3 separate regions of the Homo sapiens genome follow, and regions 1 and 2 are each linked to region 3. The links are contacts of gene promoters, found by promoter capture Hi-C in human tissues and cell types (Jung and others, 2019). All regions are on one chromosome and are shown on one strand. The core of a region is centred on a gene start or on the middle of the fragment in contact, and the rest is flanking DNA. Distances in the headings are between cores, read along the strand shown. Region 1 has its middle 47 kb from the start of LITAF. Region 2 overlaps SNX29 (sorting nexin 29). Region 3 holds the start of ZC3H7A (zinc finger CCCH-type containing 7A).

Region 1 (4,142 bases), core at 1,361-3,860, 260 kb after region 3:
AATGTTAAGAAATGTTGTTCCATGGGGCCTGGGGATCAGATCAGCCAGACAGAAGGAACTGAAATCAGGGTTCTTGACCTTGGCACTATTGACACCTTGGGGTAGATCATTCCTTGTTCTGAGTCCATCCTGTGCATTGGAAGATGTGTAGCAGCATCCCTGGCCTCTACCCAGAGATAGATGCCAGTAGCAGTCCCCAGTTGTGACAATCAAAAATATTAATACTCCAGGCCAGGCAGAGTGGCTCATGCCTGTAATCTTAGCACTCTGGGAGGCCAAGGCAGGTGGATCACCTGAGGTCAGGAGTTCGAGACTAGCCTGGCTAACATGATGAAACCCCATCTCTACTAAAAATACAAAAATTAGCTGGGCGTAGTGGCGGGCGCCTGTAATCCCAGCTACTCGGCAGGCTGAGCCAAGGAGAATCGCTTGGACCCGGGGGCAGAGGTTGCGATGAGCCAAGATCGCGCCACTACACTCCAGCCTGGGCGAAAGAGTGAAACTCTGTCTCAAAAAAAAAAAAAAAAATACTCCAGACATCACTAAATGTCTCTGGAGAAACAAAATCAAATCACCTCATTGAGAACACCTGGGCAAAGTGCATGGGTCAAAGGAAACATTTCCAATGTTTGGGGATCGAGTGTCTGTCACTGACCCAAACATGGTTAAAATACACCAATTTCCATAACAAGGAATGCAGCACTAACACATACTACAGTGTGGATGAGCCTTGGAAACGTTATGCCACGTGAAAGAAGCCAGGCAGCAAAGGTCACCTGTTGTATGATTCCATTTATGTGAAATATGCAGAATAGGTGATCCATAGATACAGATGACAAATTGGTGGTTGTCAGGGGCTGGGAAGAGGGGAGAATGGGAAGTGACTGCTTCATGGATCTGGGGTCTCCTTTGGGGGTGAGGAAAATGTTTTGCAGTCCAGGCGTGGTGACTCATGCCTGTAATCCCAACACTTTGGGAGGTCGAGGCAGGAGGGTCGCTTGAGCCTAGGAGTTTGAGACCAGCCTGGGCCACATGGTGAAACCCTCTCTCTACAAAGACATGCAAAAAAAAAAAAAAAATAGATTGGTGTAATGGCAGGCACCTGTAGTCCCAGCTACTGGGGAGGCTGAGGTGGGAGGATCGCTTGAGCCTGGGAAGTCAAGGCTGCAGTGAGCCATGATTGTGCCACTGCACTCCAGCCTGGACGACAGAGTGACACCCTGTCTCAAAAAAAAAAAAAAAAAAAAAAGAAAAAGAAAGAAAAAGAAAATGTTTTGCAACGAGATAGAGGTGGCAGTTGTACAACAATGTGGATGTGCTGATGCCACTGAATTGGTCACTGTAAAATTGTTTAATTGTACTAGGTGAATCTCACCTCGATCAAAGAAAATACACCAATTTGTATTGTTTCATGTGACAATTGGTAAAATGAGGATAGAGTGAACTGTGGATGCAGCGTAAATCAGAATGGAGGTTTCAGTGAGGTAGTAACCATTACCAACTGTGTTAAGACTATAATATAATGGCCAGGCACGGTGGCTCACACCTGTAATCCCAGCACTTTGGGAGGCCAAGGCAGGCGGATCAACTGAGGTCGGGAGATCGAGACCAGCCTGGCCAGCATGAAGAAACTCCATCTCTACTAAAAATACAAAATTAGCCAGGCGTGGTAGCACATGCTTGTAATCCCAGCTACTCGGGAGGCTGAGGCAGGAGAATTGCTTGAACCTGGGAGGCAGAGGTTGTGGTGAGCTGAGATCACACCATTGCTTTCCAGCCTAGGCAACAAGAGCGAGACTCTGTCTCAAAAAAAAAAAAAAAAAAAAAAAGACTATAATGTATAATTAAATAATACTTATAAAGCAAATGGTAGAATCTGAGGACAGGACCTCAGTATCAACATCTTTGGAACCAGTACAATGTTGGGTTAAAATGTATAGGACATGCTTGTTGAATTAGGGAAGAAAGTAAAGTGAAAGCATTTGATTCATCAAGAACCATGACTGAGCTACTTGCAACCTGCTGCAGGGCTGGGACAACTCATTTGAGCTTCCCACACCGAGTTCCTCTCCTTTCGAAGAAGAGGTAGGCTGATTCCTCCAGCGCTAAATGTCTGTGTTGGGAAATGGACAGGTCTAGGGGAGAAGACAGTACCTGCTGGAACATTCCAGAACATGCTGGAATATGCTAGGGGCTTGCTGTTTTGGCCTATGTTGTGCTGAAACCCTGTTAGTTTCACTAGGGAGGTAACAAGTTCAAGAGGCTGAAGAAGAAATGCAGAGCCAGCAAAGGAGACATTGGGTTTGATTCGGGACTTAGACACAGGGGAGAGAGTGCAGGTGCTGGTGGGCTGGAGAGGGAAACTGCAGCCACTTGCAAACAGCATGCAGTTTATTCAGCATTTTCACTTAACACCCTCCCCTTAACGACCTCCACCTGGCAACCTTCATGTAACCTAAAACTCAGAGCCTCCATCCCTTGGAGGGCCTGTGTTTCATGGGATGGGCCAGGGGCTCAGATGTTTCTCATAGACAGGAAACAAATCTCCAGGTTGGCCATTCCCGGATTCCGTAGCTGGGACTCACATTCAGGTGAGTCTGCCATCCAGGTCATCCTAAGGATGTGCGCAGGTTATTGCGTTCAGGTGCGTTTGCCCTACAGCCCACCGGAGCCAGCTCTTCGGTAAACTAGGAAACCCTTGAGACACAGGTCTCAATGAGCACCAGGCTGTGGTCAGCTTTGATACGCAGGAGCAGAGCAAGCCAAGAAATGACACTCAACTTTGCAAGAATCAGCCCCCTGTGTCTCCTTCCCACTGTCTGCTGCCAGGGGCGGGCGTCTGTATTCACACATCTGGCTCAGGTGAGGATGGGGCCAGGAGCCACCTTTGCAGGTCATTCGAAGGCCCCCACATTCCTTCCACCGGTGGGCCCTGGGGGCTGCCTCCCTCCCTCCCTGAGCTGAGAATCCCATCTTTGGAGTGAGTCTTGCGTCTACAGATCTAGGGCTGCACGTGTGTCCTGCTCAGGGCATGGCTAATAGGGCCCATTCCCTGGAAGCAAGGGCAGGAAGGGGACTGGGCACGGGGCTGTCGTCTTTACATAAGGGCTCATTACCACGGAGGCCTTAGCAGCTAGGGTACCTGTGATCCTGGGCAGGCGTATTTCTGCTTGGAGGACGTGGGGATTGGAAGCAGGGGTCGATTATAGAGCTGAGCCACAGGTGAAGTGGCTGGTGCATCTCTGAGTAGCCAAGAAATGGGAAAAGTGCCGGGAGAGGCAGGCCTCCTAACGCAGGGAGAAGGTTTCAGACCCCATCGTAGACTCTGCTGTATAACAGCCACTCACACAGGGCTTTGCGGTAAGAACTTTTTGGCTTCTTTGGCAATAGCTTTATTGAGATGTTATCTACATGTCACACAATTCACCCATTTAAAGTGTACAATTCAGCCGGGCGTGGTGGCTTACACCTGTAATCCAGCACTTTGGGAGGCCAAGGTGGGAGGGTTGGTGTAGGCCAGAAGTTGAAGACCAACCTGGACAACAAGGTGAGACTCGGTCTCTTTAAAAAAAAAAAAAAAAAAAAAAAAAAAAACGGGCCAGGCGCGGTGGCTCACGCCTGTAATCCCAGCACTTTGGGAGGCCGAGGCAGGTGGATCACGAGGTCAGGAGATTAAGACCATCCTGGCTAACACGGTGAAACCCCATCTCTACTAAAAATACAAAAAATTAGCCTGGCGTGGTGGTGGGCGCCTGTAGTCCCAGCTACTCGGGAGGCTGAGGCAGGAGAATGGTGTGAACCTGGGAGGCGGAGCTTGCAGTGAGCTGAGATCGTGCCACTGCACTCCAGCCTGGGCGACAGAGCGAGATTCTGTCTTAAAAATGTCGTTGGGCGTGGTGGTGCGTGCCTGCAGTCCCAGCTACTGAGGAAGCTGAGGAAGGAGGATTTTTTGAGCCGCGCCGAGGTCAAGGCTGCAGTGAGCTGTGATTGCACCGCTGCACTCCAGCCTGGGCAACAGGAGCAAGACCCTGTCTCTAAAACATAAAGTTTTAAAGCATAATGATTTAATCGGTTTTTATTATATTCACAAAGTTGTGCAACCATTACCACAATCAAGTTTAGCATTTTCATCAGCTCAAAAA
Region 2 (4,571 bases), core at 205-2,704, 280 kb before region 3:
GCCACTGCACTCCAGCCCCGGGCAAAAGAGCAACAGTTCATCTCAAAAACAAAATGTGTGACCAGAGCCTCAAAGCAACTTAACCATGTACTTCCCCTAGGAGCACTGGTTCAGTCTTCATAGCAACTTTATAGAATACAACTACTGGGAATAATAAGAATCAACTGTATGTTTACAAATAATTTACAACATGAAAAATAAAGTTTAGTGTCTTTGGTGAGAACAGCACGGTCATCACATGGTTAACAGAGATACACACACACACACACACACACACACACACACACACACACACCATGACTAGGAGGAAAAGTACCAAAACATCAACAACATAATGAAGTTGAGGGTTAAGACTGATTTTCTTTTTTCATTTACTGTTGCATTTTCCAATTTTTTTTTTTTTAAGACAGGTTCTCACTCCGTTAACTAGGCTGGAGTGCAGTGGTGCAATCTCAGCTCGCTGAAGGCTTGAACTCCTGGGTTCAAGTGATCTTCCCACATCAGTCTCCCAAGTAGCTGACACTACAGGCATGCACCACCACATCTGGATAATTTTTGTTGTTGTTTTATTTGTAAAGACAGGGTCTCACTTGCCCAGACTGGTGGTGTTGAACTCCCGGCCTCAAGTAATCCTCCCACCTTGGCCTCCCAAAGTGCTGAGATTACAGGCATGGGCCACCATGCCTAGTCACATTTTCTAAAATAAATAGCAAAAAAAGACTCCACCCCCTGGAAGGGTCTGGCAACACCAATTCCTTCTGACACTGAACTAACTGCGACAAGCTTCCTACAAGCAATGTCATTTTGAGAGAGCAGAACCCTTGACTGTTCCAGGTAAGACCATGGCATCTAATATGGTTTACGGTAGTCAGGAAGTTCCACTCTAGAGCTAGGTTTGAAAATAAGGATGTAATAGCACCCTGGGACCCCAAATTACAGCCAAGAGGAGAGACAGAAGAAGAAAACGGTAATAGCAGCAAGGATGGCAGTGGCATAAGACTTTGGTGTCCATTTCAGTTCTGCCACCAAGCATCCAGGGTCTCGCTTTGTCACCCAGGCTACATAAAAATGTTATGACCAGGCTGGGCGTGGTGGCTCACGCCTGGAATCCCAGCACTTTGGGAGGCCAAGGCAGGCGGATCACATGAGGTCAGGAGGTCGAGACCAGCCTAGCCAACATGGCGAAACTCCGTCTCTACTGAAAAATACAAAAATTAGCCGGGCATGGTGGTGGACATGTGTAATCCCAGGTACTTGGGAGGCTGAGGCAGGAGAATCACTTGAACCCAGGAGGCGGATGTTGCAGTGAGCCAAGATGGTGCCACTGCACTCCAGCCTGGGCGACAGAGTAAGACTGTCTCAAAAAAAAAAAAAAAAAGGGAGGAGCCAAGATGGCCGAATAGGAACAGCTCCAGTCTACAGCTCCCAGCGTGAGTGACGCAGAAGATGGGTGATTTCTGCATTTGCATCTGAGGCACTGGGTTCATCTCACTACGGAGTGCCAGACAGTGGGTGCAGCGCACCATGCACCAGCCAAAGCAGGGTGAGGCATTGCCTCACTCGGGAAGCGCAAGGGGTCAGGGAGTTCCCTTTCCTGTTCAAGGAAAGGGGTGACAGACGGCACCTGGAATATCGGGCCACTCCCACCCAAATACTGCGCTTTTCCGAAGGGCTTAGGAAACAGCGCGTGAGGAGATTATATCCCGCACCTGGCTCGGAGGGTCCTACACCCATGGAGTCTCGCTGATTGCTAGCACAGCAGTCTGAGATCAAACTGCAAGGCGGCAGCGAGGCTGGTGGAGGGGCACCCACCATTGCCCAGGCTCCCTTAGGTAAACAAAGCAGCCAGGAAGCTCGAACTGGGTGGAGCTCACCACAGCTCAAGGAGGCCTGCCTGCCTCTGTAGGCTCCACCTCTGGGGGCAGGGCACAGACAAACAAAAAGACAGCAGTAACCTCTGCAGACTTAAATGTCCCTGTCTGACAGCTTTGAGGAGAGCAGTAGTTCTCCCAGCACGCAGCTGGAAATCTGAGAACGGGCAGACTGCCTCCTCAAGTGGGTCCCTGACCCCTGACCCCTGAGCAGCCTAACTCGGAGGCATCCCCCAGTAGGGGCAGACTGACACCTCACACGGCTGGGTACTCCTCTGAGACAAAACTTCCAGAGGAACGATCAGACAGCAGCATTCGCGGATCACGAAAATCCCTGGTTCTGCAGACACCGCTGCTGATACCCATGCAAACAGGGTCTGGAGTGGACCTCTAGCAAACTCCAACAGACTGCAGCTGAGGGTCCTGTCTGTTAGAAGGAAAACTAACAAACAGAAAAGACATCCACACCAAAAACCCATCTGTACATCACCATCATCAAAGACCAAAAGTAGATGAAACCACAAAGATGGGGAAAAAACAGAGCAGAAAAACTGCAAACTCTAAAAAGCAGAGCACCTCTCCTCCTCCAAAGGAACACGGTTCCTCACCAGCAACGGAACAAAGCTGGACGGAGAATGACTTTGACGAGTTGAGAGAAGAAGGCTTCAGATGATCAAACTACTCTGAGCTACAGGAGGAAATTCAAACCAAAGGCAAAGAAGTTGAAAACTTTGAAAAAATTTAGACGAATGTATAACTAGAATAACCAATATAGAGAAGTGCTTAAAGGAGCTGATGGAGCTGAAAGCCAAGGCTCGACAACTAGGTGAAGAATGCAGAAGCCTCAGGAGCCGATGCGATCAACTGGAAGAAAGGGTATCAGTGATGGAAGATGAAATGAATGAAATGAAGTGAGAAGGGAATTTGAGAGAAAAAAGAATAAAAAGAAACGAACAAAGCCTCCAAGAAATATGGGACTATATGAAAAGACCAAATCTGCATCTGATTGGTGTACCTGAAAGTGACGGGGAGAATGGAACCAAGTTGGAAAACACTCTACAGGATATTATCCAGGAGAACGTCCCCAATCTAGCAAGGCAGGCCAACATTCAGATTCAGGAAATACAGAGAACGCCACAAAGATACTCCTGGAGAAGAGCAACTCCAAGACACATAATTGTCAGATTCACCAAAGTTGAAATGAAGGAAAAAATGTTAAGGGCAGCCAGAGAGAAAGGTCGGGTTACCCACAAAAGGAAGCCCATCAGACTAACAGTGGATCTCTCGACAGAAACTTTACAAGCCAGAAGAGAGTGGGGGCCAATATTCAACATTCTTAAAGAATTTTCAACCCAGAATTTCATATCCAGCCAAACTAAGCTTCATAAGTGAAGGAGAAATAAAATACTTTACAGACAAGCAAATGCTGAGAGATTTTGTCACCACCAGGCCTGCCCTAAAAGAGCTCCTGAAGGAGGCACTAAACATGGAAAGGCACAACCGGTACCAGCCACTGCAAAATCATGCCAAAATGTAAAGACCATCGAGACTAGAAAGAAACTGCATCAACTAACAAGCAAAATAACCAGCTAACATCATAATGACAGGATCAAATTCACACATAACAATATTAACTTTAAATGTAAATGGACTAAATGCTCCAATTAAAAGACACAGACTGGCAAATTGGATAAAGAGTCAAGACCCATCAGTGTGCTGTATTCAGGAAACCCATCTCACGTGCAGAGACACACATAGGCTCAAAATAAAAGGATGGAGGAAGAGCCACCAAGCAAATGGAAAACAAAAAAAAGGCAGGGGTTGCAATCCTAGTCTCTGATAAAAGAGACTTTAAACCAACAAAGATCAAAAGAGACAAAGAAGGCCATTACATAATGGTAAAGGGATCAATTCAACAAGAAGAGCTAACTATCCTAAATATATATGCACCCAATACAGGAGCACCCAGATTCATAAAGCAAGTCCTGAGTGACCTACAAAGAGACTTAGACTCCCACACAATAATAATGAGAGACTTTAACACCCCACTGTCAACATTAGACAGATCAACGAGACAGAAAGTCAACAAGGATACCCAGGAATTGAACTCAGCTCTGCACCAAGCAGATCTAATAGACATCTACAGAACTTTCCACCCCAAATCAACAGAATATATATTTTTTTCAGCACCACACCACATCTATTCCAAAATTGACCACATAGTTGGAAGTAAAGCTCTCCTCAGCAAATGTAAAAGAACAGAAATTATAACAGTCTCTCAGACCACAGTGCAATCAAACTAGAACTCAGGATTAAGAAACTCACTCAAAACCGCTCCACTACATGGAAACTGAACAACCCGCTCCTGAATGACTACTGGGTACATAACGAAATGAAGGCAGAAATAAAGATGTTCTTTGAAACCAACGAGAACAAAGACACAACATACCAGAATCTCTGGGACACATTTGAAGCAGTGTGTAGAGGGAAATTTATAGCACTAAATGCCCACAAGAGAAAGCAGGAAAGATCCAAAATTCACACCCTAACATCACAATTAAAAGAACTAGAAAAAAAGCAAGAGCAAACACATTCAAAAGCTAGCAGAAGGCAAGAAATAACTAAAATCAGAGCAGAACTGAAGGAAATAGAGACACAAAAAACCCTTCAAAAAATTAATGAATCCAGGAGCTGGTTTTT
Region 3 (4,157 bases), core at 654-3,153:
GAAACGCTCCCCGCTCCGCACATACCCACCCCGGAGTCCGTATGTTGAAGCTCTAACCCTAATATGGCTATTAGGCATATTAGGCAGTCATTAGGGTTAAATGAAGTCATAGGACCCTTATACTTTTTTTTTTTTTTTTGGTACAGACTCTCTCTCTCGCCCAATATGGAGTGCAATGGCGCGATCTCAGCTCACTGCAACCTCTGCCTCCCAGGTTCAAGCGATTCTCCTGCCTCAGCCTCCCGAGTAGCTGGGATTACATGTGCACGTCGCCATGCCCGGCTAATTTTTTGTATTTTAGTAAAGACGGGGTCTCATTGTGTTGCCCAGGCTGGTCTCCAACTCCTGAGCTCAGGCAATCCATCTGCCTCGGCTTCCCAAAGTGCTAGAATTACAGGCGTGAGCCACTGCGCCTGGCCTAATACGACTATTTGAATACGGCCTTTTAGGTAGTCACTGGGGTTAAATGAAGTCATAGGGTGGGGCCCTAATCTAGTAAAATTGTTGTTCTTGTAAGAAAAAGGAAGACACACCAGGGATTCCTGCTCACAGAGAAAAGGTCATAGGAGGACACAGTGAGAAGGCAGCTGTTTGCAAGCCAGGGAGAGAGGCCTCACCAGAAACCAGCCCTGCCGGCACCCAGACCTTAGATTTGCAGCCTCTAAAACTGTGAGAAAATAAATTCCTGTTGTCTAAGCTGCCTGGTCTGGGGTATTTTGTCATGGCAGCCTGAGCTAATACTCTGGTTTGTAAATCTACGTCACCCAGACCCCTGGAAGAGCTACTGTAGCTAGAGTCCCCACTTCCCCTCTTGTCTCTCCTACAGCCCAATCTCTGCATAGTAGCAGGAGAGAACTTTCTAAAATATAAATGAGACCTCGGAACTCCCAATTCAGACTCAATGAATGACCCCCTTCCACACAAAACTCCAAATTAAACATGGCGGCCCCCCTGTGTCACAGATCTTTCTCCCCTCTGGCACACATCAGCTATGCAGGCCTTTCCTGTTATCCAGACACCGAACTCCAGCTTCAGGGCTTTTGCACTCATTTCCCCTCTGCCTGCGGCACACTTCCCCGAACACGGTTGCATGGCTGTCACCTCCTCAGAGGCTTTCCCAAAAGCTCCTGTCACATCCTCCTGCTTGAATTTCTTTGGTCTTCACCGACCAAAATGGTCTTCTTTGGGCTCTTGTGGGTCCTGATCTCCGCCCTCCATCCCATGGGGCAGGGACCCTGCCTCGCCCACTGCTGAGCTGAGCATTTTACAAGAAGCCGTGCCCGCAGCGGGGCACCTGGCCGTAAAATGCAGATGGACGAGGCGGCATTTGGGCTGGGCCCTGAAGGACAGGGATCCAGGCCTTCCAAGAGCCGGCAGATGGAACTGGAGGGAGGCTGTCTTTGGATCCCCGGCTGCCGTGGGGCTCCGCGCCTCCGTTCCTCATATGTAGGAATGAAGACAATCACGGTTGTTCTGAGGATGCAGGGTTACTCTTCGCAGAGCAGGGCGCCCCGGTTGAGGGCTCGTCAAGCTAAGCAGGCTCCAGGGTGGGCTTCCCGATGCCGACTCTAGCTCCTCTCCCCGCTGGACGCTGTTCTACCTCCTAGCGCTTCTGCTCAGGCCGCGGCCCAGGCGAGGCCCCAGAAAACCCCGGTGCTGGTTAATCAGTCTTGAGTCCGAGCGCGTCCAGTGCGCAACGTGGCCTTCCCATTGGCTCACCCAGTGGGCCGCGCGTCGACGCCGGGGCTCCGGATTGAACGGCGCGCCCAGGTCCCTGCCCCCAGTCAGACGTGGCGCCACCGCCCCCAGCCCGTAGCTCCGGCGCAGCCAATGGCGGCGTCTCCCGGGCGGCAAGCGCGGCCTCCCGCCGCTAGAGGGCGCCGCCGCGGGCGCAACCGAGCCGCTGCCGCCGCCGCTAACCGAGGGAGAGCTGCGAGCGAGCACCCAGGCCCCGCCGCCGCCGCCGCCACCGCTGCCCGCCTGCCGCCGCCCGCCTCCGCCTGCCTTCTGCCGCCGGCCGGCGCGTCGTCCCCACAGGTAGGGGTAGGGGGACGCCGCCGGGCATGAAGGAAACGCGCGCGCCCGCGCCCCCGCCCCCCCCGCGCGCGCCGCCGCCTCGTGCTCGCGCGCGGCCGTTAACGGACGGCGGGCGGGGCGGGGGAGGGGCGGCGGGGTCCGGGGCCCGCGGACCCGAGAGGACCCTGAGAGGAGCCGGGCCGGGGCCTGTGCGCGCGGAGGGACGGGTGGGCGCGCCGTCCCCTTCCCCCACCGAGAATAACGTGACCCACTTCTGCCTGCCATTCCCTCGGCAAAATGTCTCCTTTTTGGTGATTTCACTAAAAAAAAATTTTTTTTTTGGTTATTTCTGTCTGCTCTGGTGATCGCGGGGATCCCGATTCAGCGTCTTGGGCTTGGGGGCGGGAAGGATGCCGGCGGAGAGCTTGGCGCATTAATTTGGGGCTCATCCGTCTTTTTTACCCCCCTTTCTGATTTTTTTATTTTTTCGCGCGGGGTGCAGCCCTGGGCCGGGCGGGGAGAGGCCTTGGGGTCCGCGGAGGCGGGGGCGCCGCCCGGGAGGACCGGGACCGGGACCTGTCAGTTCCCATTAGCGGGGCTTCCGGTCAGGCCTGGGCAGCAAAGGGGTGGGGCCGCCTGAGGCCCGGCCGGGGCCTCCGAGGTCGAGCCTGAGTCGGGACTGGGTGGATTTGCCAGGAGTTGGGTATTTTCCTGTCCCCACCTGTCTAGGGATGAAAAGGAGTTGCCCGTGTTCGGTATTGAACCACGAAGGACCTTGCCATGCCCAGTACGGTGGCCACTGACCCCCCGCCGTTTGGGACGATGGAGCCCACGAAATGGGGCCAGTTTCAGTTGCGGTCCCAGCTGTGAAACGTACATCTGATTTTAAAAACTTCGGATGAGAAAGAAAGTAAAAGATGTCATTGGTAATCTTTTATACTTAAATGCATGTTGAGATGGTCATGTTTGGGACAAATTGGATTAACGAAAATAGATCATTAAAATTAATCTTGGCAGGATGCAGTGGCTCATGCCTGTCATCCCAAAACTTTGGGAGGCTGAGGCAGGAGGATCGTTTGAGTGCAGGAGTTCAAGACCAGCCTCAGCAACATAGTGAGACCCCTGTCTCTACAAAAAATACAAAAAATTAACTGGGCGTGGTGGCGCACGCCGGTAGTCAGCTACTCGGGAAGCTGAGGTGGGAGAATCTGCTACTCGGAAGGCTGGGGTGGGAGAATCCCTTGAGCCCAGGAGATTGAGGCTTCGGTGAGCTGAGATTGTGCCTTTGTGCTCCAGCCTGGGACACTGTCTCAAAACAAACAAATAAAAAAACAAAAGTTAATCTCACTGCTTTTCTTTTTCTCTTTTTTTAGTGTGGCTATTTGGAAATTTAAAATGACATATACGGGCCGGGCGGGGTGGCTCAACGTCTGTAATCCCAGCACTTTGGGAGGCCGAGGTGTGTGGATCACCTGAGGTCAGGAATTCCGAGACCAGCCTGGCCAACATGGAGAAACCCCGTCTCTAGTAAAAATACAAAAATCAGCCAGGCGTGGTGGCAGGCGCCTGTAATCCCAGCTACTGGGGAGGCTGAGGCAGGAGAATCGTTTGAACCGGGAGGCAGAGGTTGCAGTGAGCCGAGATTGTGCCACTGCACTCCTCCCTGGGCAACAGAGCGAGACTCCCTCTCCACATACATGCGTACATACATACATACATACAATGACACGTATGGCTTATTTTGTGTAATATATTTTGTACAATATTTCGACTGGACAGCGCGCAGCTGGGGCATCTGAATGGGTGGTGGCCCTGAGAAGACATGTCTATCTGCTTATCTTTCCTGCTTCTCTGATGGCATGTGGCCTCCTTCCCTTAAGCTCTCAAAGAATCCACTGCCTCTTCCTTCTCATACTGAGCCAAACTGTTGAACTGAATTGCACAATGGGTCTTGTCCTAATTTGCAGAATAATTCAAGTTAATGGACAGTATTTTCCCTGTTGAAAAATTTTCCCTATCTGCTGTATGCTGGAGGCTACAAATAGTTGTATGAGGTTTGTCTCAGGATGAGATCATGAGTTGTTGAGGCTCAATATTATCAATATTTGTGCGTGTGTGTTTGTGTGTGTGTGTTTATTCTA

The links. Contacts are between HindIII fragments. The study calls those that stand out against the background at their distance.
Region 1: a fragment that was not itself captured here is called in contact with the fragment with the promoter of ZC3H7A in region 3 in 3 of the 25 tissues and cell types used here (IMR-90 fibroblasts, aorta and lymphoblastoid cells).
Region 2: a contact is called between a fragment that was not itself captured here and the fragment with the promoter of ZC3H7A in region 3, in 1 of the 25 tissues and cell types used here (H1 embryonic stem cells).

What each region holds. Positions count from the first base shown.
Region 1 is chr16:11,537,846-11,541,987 of GRCh38, reverse strand. No RefSeq gene overlaps it. Among named protein-coding and RNA genes, the nearest start is that of LITAF, 47 kb to the left of the region's middle. The HindIII fragment of the contact is 8,104 bases long and covers 1-4,142 here.
Region 2 is chr16:12,073,111-12,077,681 of GRCh38, reverse strand. The region is part of intron 10 of SNX29 (sorting nexin 29); the gene reads right to left. Among named protein-coding and RNA genes, the nearest start is that of SNX29, 99 kb to the right of the region's middle. RefSeq lists an enhancer at 1,753-2,303. The HindIII fragment of the contact is 5,487 bases long and covers 1-4,197 here.
Region 3 is chr16:11,795,004-11,799,160 of GRCh38, reverse strand. It overlaps ZC3H7A (zinc finger CCCH-type containing 7A), which reads left to right and starts at 1,903. Exons shown (of 23, transcript NM_014153.4): 1 at 1,903-2,037. RefSeq lists silencers at 1,620-2,029, 2,512-2,671 and an enhancer at 1,667-2,204. The HindIII fragment of the contact is 23,320 bases long and covers 1-4,157 here.